Regions from separate parts of the Homo sapiens genome. Here region 1 is linked to region 2. The links are contacts of gene promoters, found by promoter capture Hi-C in human tissues and cell types (Jung and others, 2019). All regions are on one chromosome and are shown on one strand. The core of a region is centred on a gene start or on the middle of the fragment in contact, and the rest is flanking DNA. Distances in the headings are between cores, read along the strand shown.

Region 1 (5,368 bases), core at 2,757-5,256, 120 kb after region 2:
CCTTCTCCCAGCTAGGGCCTCTCCTCCCCGCAGCATCCCCAGCCCGGGCCTCTCCTCCCCCAAGCATCCCCAGCCCGGGCCTCTCCTCCCCCCAGCATCCCCAGCCCAGGCCTCCCTCCTCCCAGTCCCCTCCCAGCCCAGGCCTCCCTCCCCCAAGCATCCCCAGCCTGGGCCTCTCCTCCCCCAGCATCTCCAGCCCAGGCCTCCTCCTCTCAGCCCCCTCCCAGCCCTGGCCTCTCCTCCCCCCAGTATCCCAAGCCCAGGCCTCCCTCCTCCCAGCCCCTACCCAGCCCGGGCCTCCCTCTTCCCAGCCCCTACTCAACCTGGGCCTCCCCTCCCCACCCCACCAGCACTCCCAGCCTGGGCCTCCCTCCTCCCAGCCCCTACCCAGCCTGGACCTCCCCTCCTCCCAGCTCCCACCCAGCCTGGCCTCCCTCCTCCCAGCCCCTACCCAGCCGGGGCCTCCCTCTTCCCAGCCCCTACTCAACCTGGGCCTCCCCTCCCCACCCCACCAGCACTCCCAGCCTGGGCCTCCCTCCTCCCAGCTCCCACCCAGCCTGGCCTCCTTCCTCCCAGCACCCCCCAGCCCGGGGCTCCCTCCTCCCAGCACCCACCCAGCCAGGCCTTCCTCCTCCCAGCACCCCCTCAGCCTGGGCCTCCCCTCCCCACCAGCACCCCCAGCCTCGGCCTCCTCCCAACCTGGATCTCCCTCCTCCCAGCCTCTACCCAGCCTGGGCCTCCTCCCAACCTGGATCTCCCTCCTCCCAGCCTCTACCCAGCCTGGGCCTCCTCCTCCCAGCCCCCACCCAGCCTGGCCTCCCTCCTCCCAGCACCGCCCAGCCCGGGCCTCCCCTCCCCACCAGCACCCCCAGCCTCGGCCTCCTCCTCCCAACCTGGGTCTCCCTCATCCCCGCCTCCACCCAGCCTGGCCTCCCCCGTCCCAGCCCCTACCCAGCCTCGGCCTCCTCCTCCCAGCACCCCCCAGCCTGGCCTCCCCCCTCCCAGCCCCCACCCAGCCTGGCCTCCGTCCTCCCAGCACCCCCCAGCCTGGGTCTCCCCCCTTCTAGCCCCCACCCAGCCTGGCCTCCCTCCTCCCAGCCCCCACCCATCCTGGCCTCCCCCCTCCCAGCCCCCACCCAGCCTGGCCTCCGTCCTCCCAGCACCCCCCAGCCTGGGCCTCCCCCCTTCCAGCCCCCACCCATCCTGGCCTCCATCCTCCCAGCCCCCACCCAGCCTGGCCAGCCCCCACCCAGCCTGGCCTCCCCCCTCCCAGCCCCCACCCAGCCTGGCCTCCCCCCTCCCAGCCTCCACCCAGCTCAGGCCTCTCCTCCCCGCAGCTCCCATCCAGCCCTGGCTTCCCAGCTCCAACTGGACCGGCCTCAGGGCCTCTGCAAGGGCCGTGACACTGCCTTCCCCCAGATCTCCCTCACCTCCTCCCTGGTCTCCTCCAGGTCTCTCCTCAAATGTCGCCTCCCCTGACCCCTAACTCCTTTCCTCCTGTTTTCTTCCTAGTGGTCATCCTGTCTCACTCGCTGTCCCACATCCCTGTGAGCTTCATGTCTCCCACCAGTGTGAGCACCTGCCCTCCAGGGCCGGAAGTTCGTCTTGGTTATAGCCCTGGTGCCCAGAACACTGCCCTGCCCACAGTAGGTGCTCAGTAAATGTCTTGAATCAACGGCAGGCATCTGTCTGGGGCATCTGGCCCCAGTGAAGAAGGAATTAGTGAAATCAGCTCTAACCTAATAGTAGTAGTCATAGAAATTTTAAAATCCTCTTAAAGTTGCTGCAAAGTGTGACCCCCACCCTTACACTCAAGTTAAAAGAGAATGTTAACAGCCTGTCTTCTCTCTGTAGTCAGTGGACCTTATCTATACTCTCCAACTCCACATTCCTCAGTTTATTACAGGCCCAGCGAGTTCCTGCTTACCTCCCTAGCACGGCTGCAGGGTCACAAAACCGATAAGTTTAGGTTGTAAGACATGTTTTTCTCAAGATGTGAGAAATGTTGGCCAGGCACGGTGGCTCACGCCTGTAATCCCAGCACTTTGGGAGGCCGAGGTGGGAGGATCACAAGGTCAAGAGATTGAGGCCATCCTGGCCAACATGGTGAAACCCCATCTCTACTAAAAATACAAAAATTAGCGGGACGTGGTGGTACACGTCTGTAGTCCCAGCTACTCGGGAGTCTGAGGCAGGAGAATCGCTTGAACCTGGGAGGTGGAGGTTGCGGTGAGCCAAGATGGCGCCACTGCACTCCAGCCTGGGCGACAGAGCGAGACTCCGTCTCAAAAAAAAAAAAAAGAAAAAGAAAAAAGAAATGCTGTAATGCTTAACTGCCTTTGTTTCTCGCCTCTGTAACTTGCTTCCCGCCTCACGTAGTTCCCGCCTTACGATGTTTAAAAATAGGAAAAGCCCTTTGTTCGAGGCTCAGACTTTCTGGATGTATGTCCAGCTGAGCCGGTGATCACCTTGATAAACTCTCCTGAACCTTTTTCGGTCTCTCCACTCTTTGTCCCACAACACCAGGACCCTCTGGTCTCCCTCCCTGCAGCAGCAGCGCCTGTTTACATGTGGCCAAATACTGTGCCCAACATTTAACACAACTGACATTTGTTTTTTTCTTTTCTTTCTTTCTTTCTTCCTTTTTTTTTTTTTTTTGAGACGGAGTCTCGCTCTGTCGCCCGGGCTGGAGTGCAGTGGCGGGATCTCGGCTCACTGCAAGCTCCGCCTCCCGGGTTCACGCCATTCTCCTGCCTCAGCCTCCCAAGTAGCTGGGACTACAGGCGTCCGCCACTATGCCCGGCTAATTTTTTGTATTTTTAGTAGAGACGGGGTTTCACCGTTTTAGCCGGGATGGTCTCGATCTCCTGACCTCGTGATCCACCCGCCTCGGCCTCCCAAAGTGCTGGGATTACAGGCGTGAGCCACCGCGCCCGGCCCTCTTTCTTTTTTTGAGACAGTGTCTCACTCTGTTGTCAGGCTGGAGTGCAGTGGCACAATCTCAGCTCACAGCAACCTCCACCTCCCGGGTTCAAGCGATTCTCCTGCCTCAGCCTCCTGAGCTGCTGGGATTACAGGCGTGTGTTACCACACCCAGCTAATTTTTGTATTTTTAGTAGAGACGGGGTTTCACCATGTCGGCCAGGATGGTCTGGATCTCGAGTGACCTCGTGGTCCGCCCACCTCGGCCTCCCAAAGTGCTGGGATTACAGGTGTGAGCCACTGCGCCCAGTCTGTGCTGAACATTTAACACAGCTGACATTGCATTTTTTCTTTTTTTTTTTTTTTTGAGACAGGGTCTCACTGTGTTGTGCAGGCTGGAGAGCAGTGGTACAATCAGGGCTCACAGCAGCCTCCACCTCCTGGGCTCAAGCGATCCTCCTGCCTCAGCCTCCCAAACTGCTGGGATTACAGGTGACAGTTGCTGCTCGGGGCCAGTGGTGGTATTTCTCTCCCCACAATCCCACAGGCAAGGCCCCACAGTCAGCCTGAGGGTCAAATACGACCTGCTGCCTGCTTTTGTAAATAAAGCTTTATCGGAACATAACCACATCAGTCCGCTGACATGTGGCCTGTGGCAGCTTCCGACCAGAACCGTAGAGCTGAATGTCAGGATGGAGGCTGCCACGCAAAGCTGAAATGTTCACTATCTGGCCCCTTACAGAAGAAGGCTGTCAGCCCTGCTGCCGGCTCTGGGGTGGGTTCGATTCCCTGCCCCAGTGAGGAGCCTGAGGCCTTACTACGTGCCACTCGTGTGCTGGTAGTGTGACACACACTCCCGTGGAGGGCACCAGGGAGTGGCCAGGGAGCACCGTGGCCAGCGTGGGGGCCGCTGCAGGACCCTGGGTGGGCTGCTTAACCCCCTGGCCTCACTCCCCCCATCAGTTCCCGGCCAGGCCTCATGCTAGTGGCCTGTTACTTCCTCTGGGACATATAGGGAAACTGAGGCTCAGGGCAGCCCCATGGTCTGGCCAAGGGTCCCAGAGAGGAAGTGGCCAACCTCAGGGCTTACGCTTTTCCCTTCTGGGAGCTCAGCTTCATGGTGAGGAGGGCAGCCTTCCCTCCGGCATGACCTGGGCACACGACTTCACCTTTCTGTGGGCCACCTGTGGTAGGTGCCGGGGAAGTGCTAAGCCAGCATGCAGTAGGTGCTCAGTAAATGCAGGGTTGGTGTGCAGCAGGTGCTCAGTAATGCAGGGCTGGTACACAGTAGGTGCTCAGTGATGCTGGGCCAGAATGCAATAGGTGCTCAGTAAATGTGGGGCTGGTGTGCAATAGGTACTCAGTAATGCTGGGGCGGTGTGCAGTGGGTGCTCAGTAAATGCTGGGCCAGTAAGCAATAGGTGCTTAGTAAACGTGGGGTCGGTGTGCAGTGGGTGCTCAGTAATACAGGGCCGGTGTAGAGTAGGTGCTCAGTGAATGCAGGGCCAGTACACGGTAGGTACTCAGTAATGCTGGGGCGGTGTGCAGTGGGAGTGAAGTAAATGCTGGGCCAGCATGCAATAGGTGCTCAGTAAATGTAGGGTCAGTGTGCAGTGGGTGCTCAGTAATACAGGGCTGGTGTACAGTAGGTGCTTAGTGAATGCAGGGCTGGTACATAGTAGGTGCTCAGCAAATGTGGGGCCAGTGTGCAGTGGGTGCTCAGTAATGCTGGGTCTGTGTACAGTGGGTGCTCAGTAAATGCTGGGCCAGCATGCAATAGGTGCTCAGTAAATGTGGGGCCGGGGCAGGTTGGTGTGCAGCAGGTGCTCAGTAATGCAGGACTAGTGCACAGTAGGTGCTCAGTAATGCTGGGGTTGTGTGCAGTGGGTGCTCACTAAATGCTGGGCCAGGATGCAATAGGTGCTCAGTAAATGTGGGGCCAGTGTGCAGTAGGTGCTCAGTAAATGTGGGGCTGGTGTGCAGTAGGTACTCAGTAATGCTGGGCTGGTGTGCAGTAGGTACTCAGTAATGCTGGGCTGGTGTGCAGTAGGTACTCAGTAATGCTGGGCTGGTGTGCAGTAGGTACTCAGTAATGCAGGGCCAGTATGCAGTAGGTGCTCAGTAATGCTGGGCTGGTGTGCAGTAGGTGTTCAGTAATGCAGGGCCGGCATGCAGTAGGTGCTCAGTAAATGCTGGGCGGGTGCACAGTAGGTGCTCAGTAATGCTGGGCCGGTGCACGGTGGGTGCCTGGTGAACACGTGCCTCCCTGGTCATCACTGCTGCTCAGTTCAGGGCTTAGGGATGGACGTGCCATCTCAGCGAGCTCGAGGGTCAAAGCTCTGCTATGGAGGAGGAAACTGAGGCCCAGAGGCAGGAGGGCAGCGACCTGCAATTCAACTCTAGGCCCATCTGGCTGTACGCTCCTTTTCCCTCCCAAGTAGTAAAG
Region 2 (4,884 bases), core at 1,960-4,459:
GCCTCCCGTAGTGCTGGGATGACAGGCGGGAGCCACCACGCCCGGCCAGATATATGGTTTCCCACTTTTGATGGTGATATTAAGTCTCTTCGTAAAACTTAAGCAAGAAAAATAATTAATGTTGTATTTATTAATTTATTTTTGAGACGGAGTCTCGCTCTGTCGTTCAGGCTGGAGTGCAGCGGCGAGATCTCAGCTCACTGCAACCTCAGTCTCTTGGATTCAAGCATTTCTCTTACCTCAGCCTCCCAAGTAGCTGGGATTACAGGCACCACCCACTACCACGTCCGGCTAATTTTTGAATTTTTAGTGGAGACAGGGTTTCACCACGTTGGCCAGGCCAGTCTCGAACTCCTGACCTCAGGGGATCTGCCTGCCTCAGCCTCCCAAAGTGCTGGAATTACAGGCATGAGCCACCATGACCAGCCAATATTGCATTTACTTAATACAGGAGTGGTGGAGACAGATGTAGTTAAAATAAATGGTGGGGCTGGGGGGTGGTGGCGGCTACAGAGTTGCGAGGCTGGAATTTGGGCAATGAGCTGTTTCAGAAACTGCTGTCTTATTCCAAAACCCAGATTATGTTCTTTTTTTTTTGAGACAGGGTCTCGCTCTGTCGCCCAGGCTGGAGTGCAGTGGCTCAATCACAGCTCACTGCAGCCTCTGCCTCCTGGCTCAAGCAATTCTACATCTTCCCACCTCAGCCTCCCAAGTAGATGGGGCCACAGGCAGGCACCATCACAGCCAACAAAATTTTTTTGTATTATTTGTAGTGATGGGGTTTGGCTACATTGCCCAAGGCTGGAGTGCAGTGGTGCGATCTTGGCTCACTGTAACCTCCACCTCTCAGGTTCAAGTGATTTTCCTCCCTTGGCCTCCTGAGTAGCTGGGATTACAGGCACAGGCCACCATGCCCGGCTAATTTTCGTATTTTTAGTAGAGACGGGGTTTCACCATGTTGGCCAGGCTGGTCTCAAACTCCTGACCTCACGTGATCCGCCCGCCTCGGCCTCCCAAAGTGCTGGGATCTCATCAAATAAAAGAAAAGACTAACGCATAAGGAATGGTGAAATAGTTCAGAAGTCGGTTTCCACCCAAGTTTCTGGCTCTGCCAGCCTGCAGGGGTGCAGGGGGTGTCTGTAGGTCTTGGCACACCAGGCCTGGCTGATTCAGGGCCAGGCAGGTGACCCCAGTAGTGGGTGAGGTCTGAGGTCACAGCCCGCTGGGGCACCCTGAGGTGGACTGAGGCAGGTGAGGGAGGGTGCTGCCGTCTGTCGAAAACATTCCCAGCCGGTGGCATCAGTGCGCTCACGCAGGCGTCGGCAGCAGCGTCTGGAATGTGCTGTAAGGAGGCTGCCAGGCCCTTCCAGAGTGAGGTCGAGTCCTCGTTCTGGGCTGATGGGGAAACTGAAGTGCCAGGGTTTGGGGATGGAGGATAGCTTGAGCTGAGGCCCCCGAGCCCCCGTGTGGTCAGGCCCCCTAACTGAGCCCCAGCTACATCTTTGCTCCCTCTCCCCAGCCCCACTCTGCTCAAATTGCTCCTCTGTCCACGCTTGTTCCTGCCTCAGGGCCTTTGCACTTGTTTTGTTTTGAGACAGGGTCCTGTTCTGTCAACCCAGGCTGGAGTACAGTGGCGCCATCTCAGCTCACTGCAGTCTAAACCTCCTGGGCTCAAGCAGTCCTCCTGCCTCAGCCTCCCGAGTATCTGGGACCACAGGTGTGCACCACCATGCCTGGCTAATTTCTTTTTTTCCTTTGGTGGAGACTGGGTCTCAGTATCTCGGTTGCCCAAGGCTTGTCTGGAACTCCTGGGCTCAAGCGATCCTCCCGCCGCAGCCTCCCAAAGTGCTGGGATTACAGGCCTGAGGCACTGAACTGACCTCCCTTTGCACTTTTTTTTTTTTGAGACAGGTTCTCGCTCTGTCACCCAGGCTGGAGTGCAGTGGCGAGATCTTGGCTCACTGCAACCTCCGCCTCCCGGGTTCAAGCGATTCTCCTGCCTCAGCCTCCCGAGTAGCTGGGATTACAGGTGCCCGCCACCACCCCCGGATAATTTTTGTATTTTTACTAGAGACGGGGTTTTGCCATGTTGCCAGGCATGCTTGCGTATTTGCCAAGCTGGTCTCGAACTCTGACCTTAGGTGATCCGCCCGCCTCAGCCTCCCAAAGTGCTGGGATGACAGGCCTGAGCCACCAAACCAGCTCCCCTTTGCAACTGGGATATTAGCCTGGAACACAGTTACCCCCAGATATTCCTATTCTCACCCTTCCCAAGCCTACTGCCCCACAGCAGGCGCTCCCGCCTCTGGCCTGCTGCCCCGGCTGAACGACACAGGTGGGCACACCTTCCAGGTTCCATTCTAAAGCTCCCGCCCTGCTCCTCCTAGGCAGGATCACGCGGAGACCAGGGCAGGCTCTAGGCTCCGAGGTTTATTTCATTCCCTTGACCTCACCCCACTTAGCAGGTGAATCCAAGCCTGCCGCTCCATTCGGCTCCTGCCCCTGAGGGCTTGGGGATTGGAGGGTAAACTGAAGCTGGAGGCTGGGAGTCTCGCGGACTGGGGCTTTCTCTCCTTGCAGCCTCCCTGAGGTCGCACGTGCTGTGTCTTCCAGCAACTTGGTGGCCCTCTCTGAGCCTCAGCTTCCTCCATGATAGACGGCATCCTAATGACTCTTACCCAAAAGTTGTCGTTGGAGCAATGAAGGTTGCGGACAGGAATCTCTAAATTGCAGATGCTGTCCTCGTTATTAGATGAGTATGCCTTGAAAAAAAAAAAAAAAAAGCCGGGCACGGTGGCGGCGTCTGCAATCCCAGCGCTTTGGGAAGCCGAGGGGCGAGGATCTCTTTACCCCAGCAGTTCGAAGCTGCACTGAGCTATGATCACGCCACTGCACTCCAGCCTGGGCCACAACGCGTCCAAAACAAAACCAAAAAAGAAAGAAAAACAGAAAAAAAGTCCGGATTTGAGGTCCTCGGGAAAACAGCCTGAGAGTGCCTCCCAGTTGCCACGGCAACAGCTCTGTCCCGCCCCCTCCCTTTAAAAACAGCAGGAGGAACCAATCAGAGCGTCCACCGGCGCATGCCTTCGCGCCTCCGCTGCATCCTGGGAGTCTACTTCCGGCTGGGGTTTCCCTTCGCAGCCTCCGTCGACCATGAAACCACAACTCCCGGCAGGCGGCGCGGGCGCATGCGCAGGCGCGGGCCGGTGGGGTGGCCTGGAGCGGCGTGCGTAATGTCGGCACTTTGCTGGGGCCGCGGAGCGGCGGGGCTCAAACGAGCCCTACGGCCTTGCGGCCGCCCGGGACTCCCCGGCAAAGAAGGTAACACAAAGGGAGACGGCCAGGCAGCCCGGGGGCCACGGCGTGGGCTCCTCCCCGCGCGGCCGGGGCCTTTGGCGCTTTGACCTTTGCCTCTTTGCACCTGGGCGTGCGCAGCCCACCGACCCGGCCCCGCTTTCCACTCGCCCTTGCCCGCTTTTCGACTGAGGCTCCTCCGTGCAGTCTGACCTTTGACTCGTGGTTTCTTATGCAGCCTCCTGACCCCAGGTGTGGTGTTTAGGGCTCTTAACCTTTGACCTGCTGCACCTCGAGTGCGAGGAACCCTCTCTCGGCGGTTCCGCGCCCGTGTTCGCCGCGGCGGGGCCCTTCCACCTTCGCTGTCTTAGTTTCTTTCCAACTTAAGCCCGTGCTCCGAGAGTTTCCGCTGCGTTTAGGGCTCCTTTGCCCTTCGACCCTTCGGCTTCTGCCTTTATGGAGGCCCCCGCCCACACGCCCGGCCCCGCTCAGCCGCTCTCGTCTTTCCCGCAGGGACCGCCGGTGGCGTCTGCGGCCCCAGGAGGAGCTCGTCCGCCAGCCCCCAGGAGCAAGACCAAGACCGCAGGAAGGACTGGGGCCACGTGGAGCTGCTGGAGGGTGAGCGCGACCCCCACGGCGGCCCGGGAGAGGAGAGTCCGCTCCCTGCTGCCGGGAGAAAAGGCAAAGGCTCAGATTCTGAGACAGGCTGAGGGCGGTCTCCACCTCTCGGGTCCCAGGACACGCCCAGACGGCGTTGCTGAAACATCTCTTGCACCGCTCATGGGCCCTGTCCTTGCTGAGCAGGCTCCTTCCTGGAGCTCTCGTAATTCCCCCTCCCCAGAACCCCACCAGGTGCTCCCACTTTCCAGGGACATAGGTGAGGCCCAAGATTATGTCTGGAGAGACCCCCCCCCCGGCCCCGCCGCCAAGGCCACATGTGCAGAGCCAGGATGTGAACCCTGAACTGACTCAGCTGTCCTGGCTTGGCTCTGGGGGGTAGGCGCCTAATGGAGACTGGATGACTGCGAAACTTGGGAGGGACAGCCCAGGCTCCAGCGGTGGCAGGCCCTCGTCCTGGCCTGGCTGGTGGTGTGGGAGGGAGGTGGGAGCTTCCCTGTGCTTGCTTCCCGCCGGTGCTTCTGTCCCACATCCTGTCTGCGTCCATTAGGCAGCCGGGAAGGGAGAGGCGGGAGAACCTTTATAAAGGGAAAAAACCTGGCCAGGTGCGGTGGCTCACGCCTGTAATCCCAGCACTTTTGGGTGGCCGAGGTGGGCGGATCAAGAGGTCGGGGGTTCGAGGCCTGGTGCGGTGGCTCACGCCTGTACTCCCAGCACTTTTGGGTGGCCAAGGTGGGCGGATCAAGAGGTCAAGGGTCCGAGGCCTGGTGCGGTGGCTCACGCCTGTAATCCCAGCACTTTGGGAGGCCGAGGCGGGCGGATCAAGAGGTCATGAGTTCAAGACCAGCCTGGCCAACATGGTGAAACACTGTCTCTACTAAAAATACAAAAATTAGCTGGGCATGGTGGTGAACGCCTGCAGTGCCAGCTACTCAGGAGGCTGAGGCAGGAAAATCGCTTGAACCCGGGGAG

Evidence for each region. Contacts are between HindIII fragments. The study calls those that stand out against the background at their distance.
Region 1: a fragment that was not itself captured here is called in contact with the fragment with the promoter of POLRMT in region 2 in 2 of the 25 tissues and cell types used here (IMR-90 fibroblasts and pancreas).

What each region holds. Positions count from the first base shown.
Region 1 is chr19:513,322-518,689 of GRCh38, reverse strand. All of the region lies in intron 1 of TPGS1 (tubulin polyglutamylase complex subunit 1), which reads right to left. Among named protein-coding and RNA genes, the nearest start is that of MADCAM1-AS1, 8.1 kb to the right of the region's middle. RefSeq lists an enhancer at 1-232. The HindIII fragment of the contact is 7,591 bases long and covers 211-5,368 here.
Region 2 is chr19:631,862-636,745 of GRCh38, reverse strand. It overlaps POLRMT (RNA polymerase mitochondrial), which reads left to right and starts at 3,209. Exons shown (of 21, transcript NM_005035.4): 1 at 3,209-3,321; 2 at 3,808-3,912. The coding sequence starts at 3,234. LOC105372234 (a long non-coding RNA gene) reads right to left here and starts at 3,282. Exons shown (of 2, transcript XR_936226.2): 1 at 2,851-3,282; 2 at 1-2,762. RefSeq lists silencers at 2,996-3,255, 3,266-3,425. The HindIII fragment of the contact is 7,301 bases long and covers 3,137-4,884 here.